Linked DNA regions of Homo sapiens: region 1 is linked to region 2. Evidence: promoter capture Hi-C in 16 types of primary human blood cells and fetal thymus (Javierre and others, 2016). All regions are on one chromosome and are shown on one strand. Each heading gives the region's core, a stretch centred on a gene start or on the middle of the fragment in contact. The rest is flanking DNA. Distances are from core to core; before and after follow the strand shown.

What was found. Contacts are between HindIII fragments. The CHiCAGO score rates a contact against its expected background, and 5 or more counts as called.
Region 1: a contact is called between a fragment that was not itself captured here and the fragment with the promoter of VPS9D1 in region 2, in 2 of 17 cell types (M1 macrophages and endothelial precursors). The highest score is 6.0, in M1 macrophages.

The regions. Positions count from the first base shown.
Region 1 is chr16:89,840,454-89,847,453 of GRCh38, reverse strand. It overlaps SPIRE2 (spire type actin nucleation factor 2), which reads right to left. Exons shown (of 15, transcript NM_032451.2): 2 at 2,089-2,132. Among named protein-coding and RNA genes, the nearest start is that of SPIRE2, 15 kb to the right of the region's middle. RefSeq lists enhancers at 1-177, 382-526 and a cis regulatory region at 454-455. The HindIII fragment of the contact is 7,206 bases long and covers 1-4,853 here.
Region 2 is chr16:89,714,918-89,722,193 of GRCh38, reverse strand. VPS9D1 (VPS9 domain containing 1) reads left to right here and starts at 1,296. Exons shown (of 15, transcript NM_004913.3): 1 at 1,296-1,431; 2 at 3,092-3,167; 3 at 5,372-5,464; 4 at 5,570-5,732. The coding sequence starts at 1,333. It overlaps ZNF276 (zinc finger protein 276), which reads right to left and starts at 657. Exons shown (of 11, transcript NM_001113525.2): 1 at 349-657. The coding sequence starts at 553. VPS9D1-AS1 (VPS9D1 antisense RNA 1) reads right to left here. Exons shown (of 4, transcript NR_036480.1): 3 at 5,290-5,723; 4 at 4,029-4,850. RefSeq lists silencers at 30-489, 570-1,689, a cis regulatory region at 2,999 and an enhancer at 2,915-3,084. The HindIII fragment of the contact is 11,777 bases long and covers 1-1,388 here.

The DNA of each region.
Region 1 (7,000 bases), core at 1-2,500, 130 kb before region 2:
AGGCAGCAGCTGCTCTGTTTGGAGACTCGGGACAGCAGGGCCAGCCGGCCTCCCAGCCCTGGAGTCCTGGACTTCAGAAAGGTAAACTGTCCCGTGTACAACGCAACAGTGAGACACACGACAACCGGACACAGCCACACAGACAGGCCCCCACTCACGTCCCAGGACACTACGTATAGCACAATGGCATCTCCACACACAGAGCTGCCAGGCAACCTGAGCGCATGCAGTCTAAACATCCCCGCCCCGAGGTTCTCCACGGTGGCAGGTGCCTTATCACTGAATTGTTAAGTGCTGTTTGTGGTGACATAGACTTCGGTTTTATTATTGTTTTTAAATTATCAACAACAGAACACACAGCCTCTTTTGGTCTGTGTCACACCCACCCTGGGTATACCACCATGTTTAATAATATATCAATAGGTCTTGCGGTAAATCTATGTTGTTTTCTTCTTGTTTTTTTTTTTTTAAACAATTAATCTCACTTGGGCATGAAAAACTTTTACAAAAGACAGAAGACACTCGGGAGACTGAGGCAGGAGAATTGCTTGAACCCGGGAGGCGGCGGTTGCAGTGAGCCAAGATCACGCCACTGGACTCCCCCTGGGCAACAAGAGGGTAGATCTAAAAAAAAAAAAAAAAAGGCTGGGCGTGATGGCTCACACCTGTAATCCCAGCAGTTTGGGAGGCTGAGGTGGGTGAATCATGAGGTCAGGAGTTTGAGACCATCCTGGCCAACATGGTGAAACCCCACTTCTACTAAAAATACAAAAATTAGCCGGGCATGGTGGCGGGCGCCTGTAGTCCCAGCTACTTGAGAGGCTGGCCAGGAGAATGGCGTGAACCCGGGAGGCGGAGGTTGCAGTGAGCCAAGATCACGCCACTGCACTCCAGCCTGGTGACAGAGAGAGACTCTGTCTCAAAAACAAAAAAAAACACAAAAATTAGCCAGGCGTGGTGGCATGCGCCTGTAATCTCAGCTACTCGGGAGGCTGAGGCAGGAGAATTGCTTGAACCCAGGAGACGGAGGTTGCGCTGCAACTAGCCGAGGTTGCAGTGAGCTGAGATCGCACCACTGCAGTCCAACCTGGGTGACAGAGGGAGATTCTATCTCAAAAAAAAAAAGAGGCCAGGCACAGTGGCTCAGAACTGTAATCCCAGCACTTTGGGAGGCCAAGTGGGAGGATGGCTTGAGCCCAGGAGTTTGAGACTAGTCCGGGCAACATAGTGAGACATCTCTATTAAAAAATAAAATAAGGCCGGGCGCGGTGGCTCACTCCTGTAATCCCAGCACTTTGGGAGGCCGAGGCAGGTGAATCACAAGGTCAGGACATCAAGACCATCCTGGCTAACACGGTGAAACCCCGTCTCTACTAAAAATAGAAAAAAATTAGCCGGGCGTGGTGGCGGGCACCAGTAGTCCCAGCTACTTGGGAGGCTGAGGCAGGAGAAAGGTGTGAACCCGGGAGGCGGAGCTTGCAGTAAGCCGAGATCACACCACTGCACTCCAGCCTGGGCGACAGAGCGCGACTCCATCTCAAAACAATAAAATAAAATAAAATGAACAAAAGCAAAAAAAACAAAGAAAGAAAACTAAAAAGGCAGTAGAAAGTGGAAACATGACGTTCCAGACATGACTTCAGGGCAGGTGAATGGGAGAGGAAGGCCCTGCCCTGCGGTGAGGTTCCAGTTTTGGTCGGGTGGGGTTTCGGGGCACTGGTCACCAGGCTGATTTTTCCTGTTTGCACCTGAAGTCGTCTCCCTGACCCCGGCTCTGTGTCTGGGAGGCCGGCCCTGCAGACGTCAGCTGTGCCCCTCATCTGTGCAGCTGTGGAAGGAAGTAACACCACTGCCTCCTCCAGGCCGGAAGCACCACGGGGACCCTCCCCACCCCGGCGGTCTCCTCCACGTCTGCTCTCTGTGAACAGCGTTTCATCCAGTCCCTGCAACTAAGCCTGTTGGGTACTTCATCTGCACCCTGCCTCCCTGAAACAACTGTGTAACTATATATGTTTTATGATTTACATTTTAAGATGCAGGTACGTTTTAACACACATCAAGTAATACTTGGAATTTTTTAAAAAGTACCTGGGCTTCCGAGCTGGCTAGTGGCACGACCATGGTTGCAGGTTCTGTAAGAGAAGAGGGAGTTAAGTTATTTGTCAGCATCCCCGGGACCCCAATAAACACTGCTGTCCCCCCACCTCCCCCTCGGGGACACACACCACAGCCCCACTCTCCGCCGGAACACCAGAAAGCTCACAGCAGGCCCAGCCACTTGGTCATTTGGACGAACACCCATGAGGCCCGGCTCGAGCTGGCTCTAAGCAGGACACCCAGGTACAGGGGCCGGGAGAGCAAGGCAACCCCTACTTGCAGAAGGATGATGGTCAGCTTGTGGACAGACCCCCAGTGCCCCACGCAGCAGCCCCTCCATGGTGACCACTCAAAGGCGAGTCAGGGCTGGAGAGCAGCCAACAGGTCCCACAGTCTGTCCCGGGCACTGCAGGAGGCTGCCCCTAGGGAAACATGGCTGGGAGTAAGAGTGAAGGAGGGGCAGGTGGAGTAGGAGGCCAGATGTGGTGGCTCACACCTATAATCCCAGCACTTTGAGATGCCGAGGTGGGAGAGCTGCTAGCAGCCAGGAGTTCAAAACCAGCCTGGACAACATAGTAAGCCCCTGTGGCTACAAAAAATTTTAAAATTACTTTGGGAGGGCCAGGCGCGGTGGCTCACGCCTGTAATCCCGGCACTTTGGGAGGCTGAGGCAGGCGGATCACAACGTCAGGAGATCGGGGCCATCCTGGCTAACACGGTGAAACCCCGTCTGTACTAAAAATACAAAAAATTAGCCAGGCGTGGTGGCGGGCACCTGTAGTCCCAGCTACTCGGGAGGGTGATGCAGGAGAATGGCGTGAACCCAGGAGGCAGAGCTTGCAGTGAGCCGAGATTGCACCACTGCACTCCAGCCTGGGCAACAGAGTGAGACTCTGTCTCAAAAAAAAAAAAAATTACTTTGGGAGGCTGAGGTGGGTGGACCACTTGAGGCTAGCAGTTCAAGACCAGCCTGACCAACATGATGAAACCCTATCTCTACTAAAAGTACAAAATACAAAAATGAGCCAGGCATAGTGGAGAGCACCTGTAATCCCAGCTACTCAGGAGACTGAGGCGTGAGAATCGCTTGAACCCAGGAGATGGAGGCTGCAGGTGGAGGCTGACCCAAGATCATGCCACTGCACTTCAGCTTGGGCAACAGAGCGTGACTGCATCTCAAAAAATATATAAAAATAAAAATAAAAAAATTAGCCAGGCGTGGTGGCAGGTGCCTGTAGTCCTGCTACTCGGGAGGACCTCTTGAGCCCAGGAGGTTGAGGCTGCAGTGAGCCAAGATTGCACCAGTGCACACCAGCCTGGGCGACAGAGTGAGACCCTGTCTCAAAAAAAAAAAAAGGCCAGGCACGGCAGCTCATGCCTGTAATCTCAGCACTTTGAGGTGCCACGGCGGGTGGATCACTTAAGATTAGGAGTTTGAGACCAGCCTGGGCCACATATCGAAACCTCATCTCTCCAAAAAATACATAAAAATAGCTGGGCATGGTAGTGCATATATGTAGTCCTAGCTACTCGGGAGACTGAGGTGGGAGGATCACTTGAGCCTGAGGGGTGGAGGTTGCAGTGAACCGAGATCACGCCACTGCATTCCAGCCTGGGCAACAAAGCGAGACTCTGTCTCAAAAAAAAAAAAAAAAAAACAAAAAACAAAAACAAACAAAAAAAAAAAAACGTGGCAGCAAGGCAGCAGCTCCATCCATCGAGGCACATCTTCAGGAAAGAACCTGTGGTCTGAGATGAGACACACCACCTGCCTGGGACTGAGGTTGTGCACACTGAAATCACAGCAGTCAGATGAGAAACCCCGGGTCAGAGGGAGAGACAGACTTTGCAGAGCAGGTAAGTCGGCATCTGACTGAGACCACCGATTTGGAGATGTCCCCCCAAGACTGTTTATGCCTCTTAGAGAACCACAGTCCGAGTGGAAATGCAGGTGGAAGCTGGAGTCACGTATTTCATTGATGAAACCTGGCCCTGAGGGAGGCCCGGGAGCGAACCTGCCTTTTGCCGGTGCTCACGCTGGAGCTGGTTGCTCCACTTCCCGTTTCACAGATGAGGAAACAGAGACCGGAGGATGAATCTGTTTGCTCCAAGGTATCAGGGCTGATAAGTGCCAGGAGTGGGGCCAGGCCGTGGGGCCCAGGGTCTGTGCTCCCCAACCCTCCTCCCCCGGGGTTCCCAAGATGCTGCGCTGGGTGGGATGCAAAACATCCACCCGATTCTACAGCCTTCCTTGAACTGGGCATGCAGGTGGGACTGTGCTAGAACAAGAGCTCCAGCTGCCTGGAATTCTTTCTGGAATGAGGTAAGATGTATATATGCGTCTATATCTAAGCCATGAAATCATCTGCTCAGTGGACCTGCTAACTCCACAAATATTTTCAAAATGCCATCAAGAACCAGGAAGATTGCCAAAGATAAAGGGAGCCTGCTCCATTAACATAATGGAAAGCAATCCACCCCCGCATCAGTGGAGTTCATAGAACAATGTGTGGCCCACGGTGGGGGTGTGGGTCCCCAGGGCCTGGGCAGTCCTGGCCCGCGCTGGGCGTTCAGCACGTTTGCAGCTGTGATTGGGCCGAGGCCATGGGAAGGTGGAAGACATCAGACCCAAACAAAGGTGCTCCCTGGAACAGACCAGGGCCCTGTGGGGAAGGGCTGACTGGTGGCCGGCTGGCCCTTCAGTGCCTTCACAGACTAAGCCCACATCAGGCGAGGTCCTCAGTGCATGGGAAGCTTCTGGTTGGAATAATTTTAATGTTTGTGCCTCTGGCTCAAATACTCCATAGGTTAACAAAAAAAGTTGTATCAAAATTAAATGTTCACGGCCGGGCACGGTGGCTCACGCCTGTAATCCCAGCACTTCGGGAGGCCGAAGTGGGTGGATCACCTGAGGTCAGGAGTTCAAGACCAGTCTGGCCAACATGGCAAAACCCCGTTTCTACTAAAAATACAAAAATTAGCTGGGCATGGTGGCACATGCCTGTAATCCCAGCTACTTGGGAGGCTGAGAGAGGAGAATCGCTTGAACCCAGGAGGTGGAGGTTGCAGTGAGTCAAGATGGTGCCACTGCACTCCAGCCTGGGCAACAGAGTGAGACTCCGTCACAAAAAAAAAAAAAAAAAAAAAATTACGTGTTCATGAATCTAATTGTATTTAAGCTGCAAAGACTTGGGGTGTCTCTGGGTTCTGAGATGAGAGATTATCTGGGGGAGACTTGGGGGCCGACAGAGGCCTTTGCAGTCAGAGCCCGAGCCCAGGATGTTATAAAACTCAGATGTTATAAAACTAGATGTTAAAAAATTATTTACTGTGGGGTGCGGTGGCTCACGCCTGTAATCCCAGCACTTTGGGAGGCTGAGGTAGGCGGATCACCTGAGGTCAGGAGTTGGAGACCAGCCTGACCAACAGGGAGAAACCCCACCTCTCCTAAAAATACAAAATTAGCCGGGCATGGTGGCGCATGCCTGTAATCCCAGCTACTCGGGAGGAACACGCCTGTAATCCCAGCTACTTGGGAGGCTGAGGCAAGAGAACGGCTTGAACCTGGGAGGTGGAGGTTGCGGTGAGCCGAGATCGTGCCACTGCACTCCAGCCTGGGTAACAAAAGCAAAACTCCATCTCAAAAAAAAAAAAATTATTTACCGTGGCCTCTATCTGCGCAGCCATCCCATAAAGGTTGGTGCCATAATTTCCTCGTTACAGATGAGGAAATCGAGGCTCAGGCAGGTTGAGAAACTTACCCAAGACCATACCCCTAATAAATGGGGCAGCTGGGCCACCGAGCATGGCCAGACCACAGCAAGCAACCCAGCCGAACACCCAGGTATAAGTGCATACAGAGCTACCACAACCACGTCACCAACGTGGCCACAGAGCTACCACAACCACGTCACCAACGTGGCCACATGGGGTTATGCAAACCACCTTTTGCTTATCTAAAAAATTCTCTCCAGGGTAGAGCAGACGGAGGCAGTAAGGACCCCAGATTCTCATCAAGTCTATTAGTGCCATGCTAAGGTGGGAGGCAGAACCAGGACCCCTCGTTTCCATCCACCACTAAGAGTTAAGAGCCTATTTCTCCCTGCAGGGAAGCACAGCCTCAATGAGAGAAGAAAAGCCACCTGAGTTTCTTTTTCCTTTTTTTTTTTTTTTGAAACAAGGTGTTGCTCTGTCACCCAGGCTGGAGTGCAGTGGTGTAATCATGGCTCACTGCAGCCATGACTTCCTGGGCTCAAGCGATCCTCCCGCCTCAGCCTCCCAAAGTGCTGGGAGTACAGGTGTGAGCTACTGCACCTGACTCAGATTTCTTTTGTGTAAAATAACAAATGACTAGAACAAAGATGCTAGGGAGTCTTCTTTGAAACAATCCTGTGTGTGCTTGTAAAAGATGACAGGTTTCAGCTGGGCGCGGTGGCTCACGCCTGTAATCCCAGCACTTTGGGAGGCCGAGGCAGGCGGATCATGAGGTCAGGAGATCGAGACCATCCTGGCTAACACGGTGAAACCCCGTCTCTACTAAAAAATACAAAAAAATAAGCTGGGCGTGGTGGCGGGCACCTGTAGTCCCAGCTACTCGGGAGGCTGAGGCAGGAGAATGGCGTGAACCTGGGAGGCGGAGTTTGCAGTGAGCCGAGATTGCGCCATTGCACTCCAGCCTGGGCGACAGAGTGACTCCATCTCAAAAAAAAAAAAAAAAAAATTTGAAAACTTTTTATTTTTATGCAAACCATCTCCAACTTTTGAGAGAAACATTACGGTAACATTAAAATATAACTTTGAAAGGATTTGGGCCAGACATGGTGGCTCATGCCTGTAATCCAGCACTTTGGGAGGCCGAGGCGGGCGGATCCCAAGGTCAGGAGATCGAAACCATCCTGGCTAA
Region 2 (7,276 bases), core at 47-2,546:
ATTGCAGGTGCCGCCTCCTTTCCGGCTCCGCGAGGGCACGAAGCAGGGGAGGGCGATTCCCACGCGCGGGCACCCCAGGGCGACCTGCCCGCGGTGACAGCGCTCCTCACGCCGGGTCCCTTCTGGCCGAGCCCGCGGCCGGGGAGGCCGGGCCGGCGACGCCGGCGTCACGGAGCGCGAGGAAAACCGAGCCGGCCGCCCAGCGCCTATCCCGACGCAGCCCCGAGTCCGCTACGCCCTTGGCCGGGTGGAGGAGAGGCCGCGCCGGCTTCCGGGCGTCAGTGCGGCTCCTCCCACGAGCAACCCCTGCCGCGACCCCAACCCGCCACGCCCGGGCCGCGGACCCACCTGCCTCGTCCGCGCCGTCCTCGCCCGCGTCCCCGCAGGACCCCACCGGGCCCCAGGCGCGCCGCGCCGTCGCCCCGTCCACCCTCGGCCCACCGCTAAGGGAAGGGCGGCCCCGAGTCCGGCTGACGCCGCCGCCGCCGTCCGAGGCCCCGCACTGTCGGGACGACCCAGGAGACAGGAAGCGGCCCAGCCGGTCCCGCTTCATGGCAGCGGAGGACGCCAGCAGAATCCCGCGGGTGCTGCCCGGCCCGAGGTTCCTAGAGGACCCGGCGTTAGGCTCCGCTCGGCGCGCTGGAAGCGAGGCGGGGCGGGGGAGGGGCGGAGCGAGAAGCAAAGCGAGGCGGGCGGGGCGGGCCAGGGGCCAGGGGCGGGACCCCGCCGGCCGAGGTTCCACCCGCGGTGCCAGCGCCCCCGCTCGTACCGCTCCCCTCTCGGGCCCGAGGGCGGCCGTGCCCGCCTCTGTCGCCAATGGAGCGCTGGCCTGGGGCGGGGCGGTGGGCGGAGGGGCTCGCCGACACCTCACGACGAGTCCTCCAGGGAGAGGCGACGCGGCCCTCACCGCCTCTTACCGTGGGAGACGGAGGCGCGGGGCGGGCAGGCGCCGGCGGAGGCCACGCGGCGCGCAGGTGGCGGGCGGGCTGCAGAAAGGGGAGGGGGGCCGGGGTCTCACGTAGAGAGGGGCCTGGCTGCCGCGGTTAGACGCCCATGGCAACTCCGTGAGGGGCCCTTCTCGCCAGCCCCGTCTCAAGACGGCGAAGAGGCCCGGCTCCGTCGCGACAACCCACCCGGACTCTGCCGCCCCCGCCACTAACACCCGTGGGGCCCGCAGTACGCGCGGAGGGGGCCCGTCGCCGGAAGTGCGGCCGCGTCCCTTCCTGCGGTCCGCTGCTCGGGCGGCTCCAGCACCAGCGCCGGCTGCGTTCCGGGCCTCCGGTCGCCCGTCCAGCCCCTCGGCTACCGCCGCCGCCTCCCCCGCTCGGCGCCATGGCCGCTGCGGCCGGGGACGGCACGGTGAAGCCGCTGCAGAGCGCCATGAAGCTTGCCAACGGGGCCATCGAGCTGGACACCGGCAACCGGCCCCGGGTGAGGCGGGGCGGGGGCGGGGCTTGGCCGCTGAGGGTGGCCCCTGGAGGGACCCCCGCCCGGGGAGGGCGAGGACGGGGCCGGCTCGGGCTGGAGACTTGGGAGCGGGCGCCAGCCGGGATCCCGGGCCGCGGTTCCCGGGCGAGGACGGGGGCGGGGCGCAGCCGGGCGTGCAGTGACCTTGGACAGCTCAGATCCTGCGGACCTTGGCTTTCCACTCCGCTCGCTGAGCCGGTGCATCACAGCCTGGGCTCCACCTGTAGAGGAGATGTAGCAGGAGGGTCCGCCAGGCCACCTTCCAAAATCCGAGTGACGGGCAGGTCCGTGCGTTCGTGCATTTTTCTGGGCAGAGATGGTAGATTTAATCCGGTTGCCACAGGGGACGGCATGCAGAGAAGGCCACATACCTGCTCATTTGTGATGCTGTTTGCAGTCGTCTTAGGAAGGAAAAGCAGGCCGGAGGGGTGTGGCCCGTTCCTGAGATGGGGCCGAATCTAAGGTTGGCGACCAGGTAGAGAAGCTGGCCCAGCCACACCCGGCTGCCCAAGGAGGGAAGGAGCCTGCCTGTGCCTAGGAGAAGCCTCGTTCCTGAATCTGCTGCTTTCCCCAAGTTGGTTTTTAGGGCAGCAGGTGCCCCCGCAAGTCAGAAATCCTGCCTGGATTATATTTCGTCTTTCTCTCTGAGGCATAGACTTAAAGATAGGAAACTTAACAGCTAGGGATAAAACAAAAAAACATAGCATATTGCTGGGCGCTGTGGTTCACGCCTGTAATCCTGACACTTTGGGAGGCCCAGGCGGTGGATCACCTGAGGTGAGGAGTTTGAGACCAGCCTGGCCAACGTGGTGAAACCCCGTCTCTACTAAAAATACAAAAATTAGCTGGGTGTGGCGGTGCACACCTGTAATCCTAGCTCCTTGGGAGGCTGAGGGATGAGAATCACTTGAACCCAGGAGGCGGAGGTTGCAGTGACTCGAGATCCTGCCACTGCACTCCAGCCTGGGCGACAGAGTGAGACTCTGTCTCAACAAAACAAAACAAACCACCATTCTGTGGTTCCAATGACCTGTGCCTTGTCAGAGGGGTCACACAGCCTTGAAAGGTAACAGTTCTAGGCTCCTGTGTGCACTGGAAATACGTAACTCGCAGGTTCTGGGAAAGGGATTTCTCGGAACTTAAACCGGGAAGTGATTTGAAAACTTCCAGTATCACTCCCTTTATCCTCTCAGAAAAGTATTTTTTTAAGCCACTGAATGAATCACCCTTGAGTTGCACAAGAAGGAAACATTGCATAGAATGAAAAATGACAGCAAACTGCTGAGGTCACTTCCCCAGGCCCACTGAATGAGAATATCAGTTCCTGTGCTGGAGAGAAAGGCAGTCAGAGGAGAAAATGAGGTCCAGCTCGTCCCTGGCTCTCTCTCTCTCTCAGGTCCTGATGTCTTTTCCAAGTCTGGAGAGCAGCGATGCTGCCTGTGCCCTGCGCAGAAAACCGTGTTCCGGCTGCAGCTAACCACCGCAGGCTCAATGTCTCTGGGTGTATCTCAGAGATAAGCAGGTGGTGGTGTTCCTTGCTTATCCCACAAGGGCACCTGGCCGGAATAATGGAGTCACTTCCCTCCACTGGCCTGACCCCACTCTTTCTCTTTCCTGGACACAGGAGGCATACACGGAATACCTGAGGAGCATCCACTATATCTCCCAGGTGTTACTAGAAGAAGTGGAAACCACTAAAGGTACGGCTCAGCCAGCCGGGCGCGGTGGCTCACGCCTGTAATCCCAGCACTGTGGGAGGCAGAGGCGGGCTATCACCTGAGGTCAGGAGATCGAAACCATCCTGGCTAACATGGTGAAACCCCGTCTCTACTAAAAATCTAAAAAATCAGCTGGGCCTGGTGGCGGGTGTCTGTAGTCCCAGCTACTCGGGAGGCTGAGGCAGGAGAATTGCTTGAACCCGGGAGCAGAGGTTGCAGTGAGCCGAGATCACCCCATTGTACTCCAGCCTGGAACAAGAGCGAAACTCCGTCTCAAAAAAAAAAAAAAGAAAAGAAAAAGAAAAAGGCATGGCTGAGCCCTGCTGCTTCCTCCATGCTGGACAAATTGTGGGCATCCTAGCCCTTGATGGGTGCCAGGCTTCGGCGGGGGTCTCTTGTATCCTTCTAGCCTGACCATTTGTAGTAGGTGGACCAGCCCACACTCAGTGTGATATAGTGGCAGGAAGGGACCAGCGTTGTGGATAAGAAGATGGAGACTGGGGTGTGGCAAGACACTGGCTCCAGTGAGCGGCACAGACGTGGGGCAGCATTCCAGCTGTGGGGTGTGCAAAGGCCCTGAAATAGGAGTGGGCGGGGTGGGGCTGTGTGCATGCCTTGGGTGGAACTGGGGCCGTTCTGGTGTGCAGGGAAACTTGAAGAGACTTTGAGCTTTGAGGGAGAGGACAGCCTGGGAGTGGAGCCTCAGGTGAGGACTGAGGATGGCAGTGGCCAGACCACCCAGGATGGGAGCAGTAAACGGCCTCGGGGTGCGTCCTGAAGGTGGAACAGAGCAGACTTGCAGGAGGCAGATGGGGCAGGAGCAAACTGGCAAGGAGAGGAATAGCAAGTTCCGCAATGAACACATTAAGTTTGAGAGGCCAGCAGCCGCTGCACAAAGGATCACAGAGGTCAGGGGGAGCCACTGGACATAGAGCACAGAGGTCAGGGGGAGCCACTGGACGTGGGATCACAGAGGTCAGGGGGACCCACTGGACGTGGGAGCACAGAGGTCGGGGGAGCCACTGGACGTGGGAGCACAGAGGTCGGGGGAGCCACTGGACGTGGGAGCACAGAGGTCGGGGGAGCCACTGGACGTGGGATCACAGAGGTCGGGGGAGCCCCTGGACGTGGGATCACAGAGGTCGGGGCAGCCACTGGACGTAGGATCACACAGGTCAGGGGGAGCTAACAGTTGCCCCAGCTCCCTAGGGAGCCGGTGAGCTCGGCTGAGCTCTGGCGCTCCAAGATTGAGGAGTTGGGTGGAGGAGTGGCAGAGGATCCCCTGGGGAGAGCAAAGTCCCAGAAGACAGAGGAACTCCAGTGGCCCACCGTGTCTGGCAAGGTGGGGACGGGTAAGGGCAGTTTCCGGGGGGAGTCGGGGGCTAAATCGGGGCGGGATGAGAAAATGGGAGTCTATGAGAAGTTTTCTGTGAAGGGCAGCAGGGAGGTGGGTCAGGCGCTGGGGCGGTGGGTCCAGGGGCGAGTCACAGAGAGGCAGCTCCCACGGCGCGCAGAAGGGCTGTGTGAGCAGGTCCATGGTCGCGCAGAGGTGCTCCATGCCAAGCTACGGGAAGGCAGGACTTTGGGGACACAGCCGGTGGGAGATGGGTGAGGCGATCCCCTCAGCACGTCCTTGTCTCTGTAAAACGGCCACTTCCCAGAGGCCTGCAGTTGCAAGTGAAGCTGAGTGAGCACTAAAGGCCTGTTTAGGGTCGAGGCTGTGACGGGCCTCGATGAGGGGCCCACAGCCTTAGCAGACTCAGGAGGCAAAACCAGGGCAGATGATTAGAAATGCGTGGGTGGGGGGACTTGCCTGGGGTCCATGGTGGGGGCAGGGGCCTTGCCTGGGGTCCATGAGGAATAGTCGGCTTGCCCGGGGTCAGTGGGGGGTGGAAGGGGCAGTGGGCTTACCCGGGGTGAGGGGATGGGGGGGCAGTGGGCTTGCCTAGGGTCAGTCAGTTGGGGGACGGGAGGGGCAGTGGGCTTACCCGGGGTGAGGGGATGGGGGGGCAGTGGGCTTGCCCAGGGTCAGTGAGGGGATGGGGGGGCAGTGGGCTTGCCCGGGGTCAGTGGGGGTGCTGAGGGGGGCAGTGGGCTTGCCTGCCTTTTCCGTTGCCTCATTTTATCTCAGCAGTAAGTAACAGTGGTAGAGCCGACTGTGACCAGCCTTCTTGTCCCTCCCCCAGAAGCTGGGGAAACTGTGCCCCCCGACACCTCCAAGATGCTGAAGCTAGCACAGCAGTGTCTGGAGAGGGCCCAGTCGACGGCCGCCAAGCTTGGTGGGTCTCCTGCAGTAGGCGGCTCTCCTGGGGCATCCCCCAAGCCCGCATCTCCTCTGTGGGATGTGGCCCACCGCTTGACCCCTGGTTACCCATGGCTTGCAGGGAAAACACGCCTGAAGCCAACCATGCCTGCAGCTGCTCCCATTCCCCAGCCTGCCGGCCGACACCGCCGTGTATACTCCGATGAAGGAGGAAAGCTCTCTCCTTTTCTGCCACCCGAGATCTTCCAGAAGCTTCAGGGGGCAGAGTCACAAAGCTGTAAGAAGTAAGATGGACAAGATGGGAGGTGGGATGAGCCTGGGATTGGGTTTTTGAGGCTGAGAAAGATGAGCTGATGACAGCGATTTTTTTTTTGTTTTTTGAGACAGAGTCTCACTCTGTCACCCAGGCTGGAGTGCAGCGGCTCAATCTTGGCTCACGGCAACCTCCACCTCCCGGGTTCACACCATTCTTCTGCCTCAGCCTCCCAAGTAGCTGAGACTACAGGCGCCCACCACCACACCCAGCTAATTTTTTGTATTTTTAGTAGAGACGGGGTTTTGCCATGTTAGCCAGGATGGTTTCGATCTCCTGACCTCGTGATGCGCCTGCCTCGGCCTCCCACAGTGCTGGGATTACAGCGTGAGTCACCGCGCCCGGCCCCCACAGTGCTGGGATTACAGGCATGAGCCACTGCGCCTGGCCTGACAGCGAATGTTTTTAAAATGAGTCCCAGAATGGGAATATCCCCTGGCCGGACACAAGCAAATGCAGGCGGCCTGGTGGCTCACGCCTGTAATCCCAGCACTGTAGGAGGCCGAGGCGAGCAGATCACCTGAGGTCAGGAGTTCCTGACCAGCCTGGCCAACATGGTAAAACCCCGTCTTTACTAAAAATACAAAAATTAGCTGGCCGTGGTGGTGTGCACCTGTAATCCCAGCTACTCAGGAGGCTGAGTCCAGGAGAATCGCTTGATCCTGGAAGGTGGAGGTTGCAGTGAGCGAAGATTGTGCCACTGCACTCCAGCCTGGGCAACAAGAGTGAAACTCCGTCTCAAAAAAAATTAGGCATAGTGGTGTGCCCCTGTAGTCCCAACTACTAGGGAGGCTGAGGTGGGAGGCTCACTTGAGCCTGACAGGTTGAGGGTGCAGTGAGCCGTGATTGTGCCAGTGCACTCCAGCTTGGGCAACAAAATGAGACTCTGTCTAAAAAAAAAAAAAATGACCGGGCGCGGTGGCTCACGCCTGTAATCCCAGCACTTTGGGAGGCCGAGGTGGGTGGATCATGAGGTCAGGAGATCGAGACCATCCTGGCCAACAAGGTGAAACCCCATCTCTACTAAAAATACAAAAAATTAGCTGGGCGTGGTGGCGGGCACCTATAGTCCCAGCTACTCAGGAGGCTGAGGCAGGAGAATCCCTTGAACCCAGGAGGCAGAGGTTGCAGTGAGTTGAGATTGCGCCACTGCATTCCAGCCTGGGCGACAGAGCAAGACTCCATCTCAAAAAAAAAAAAAAAAAAATTTAGCTGGGAACAAGGATGAGTTATATATCTATATATATGTAGAAATCCATACATACAAAACTGAGCAGACAAGTTTATAACAGCAGAGCAGATATAGCTGAAGAGCAAATTCATGTATTGGAAAAAAGGTCAAAAGATAGCTAGAATGAATTACAGAAACAAAAAATAAAGACAGAAAACAAGAGATGGAAAGCCTAACGTGTTCGTTGGAGTTCCAGAAAGAAAATGGGAGGGAGGCCAAGGCAGGCAGATCACAAGGTCAGGAGTTCAAGACCAGCCTGGCTAACATGGTGAAACCCCATCTCT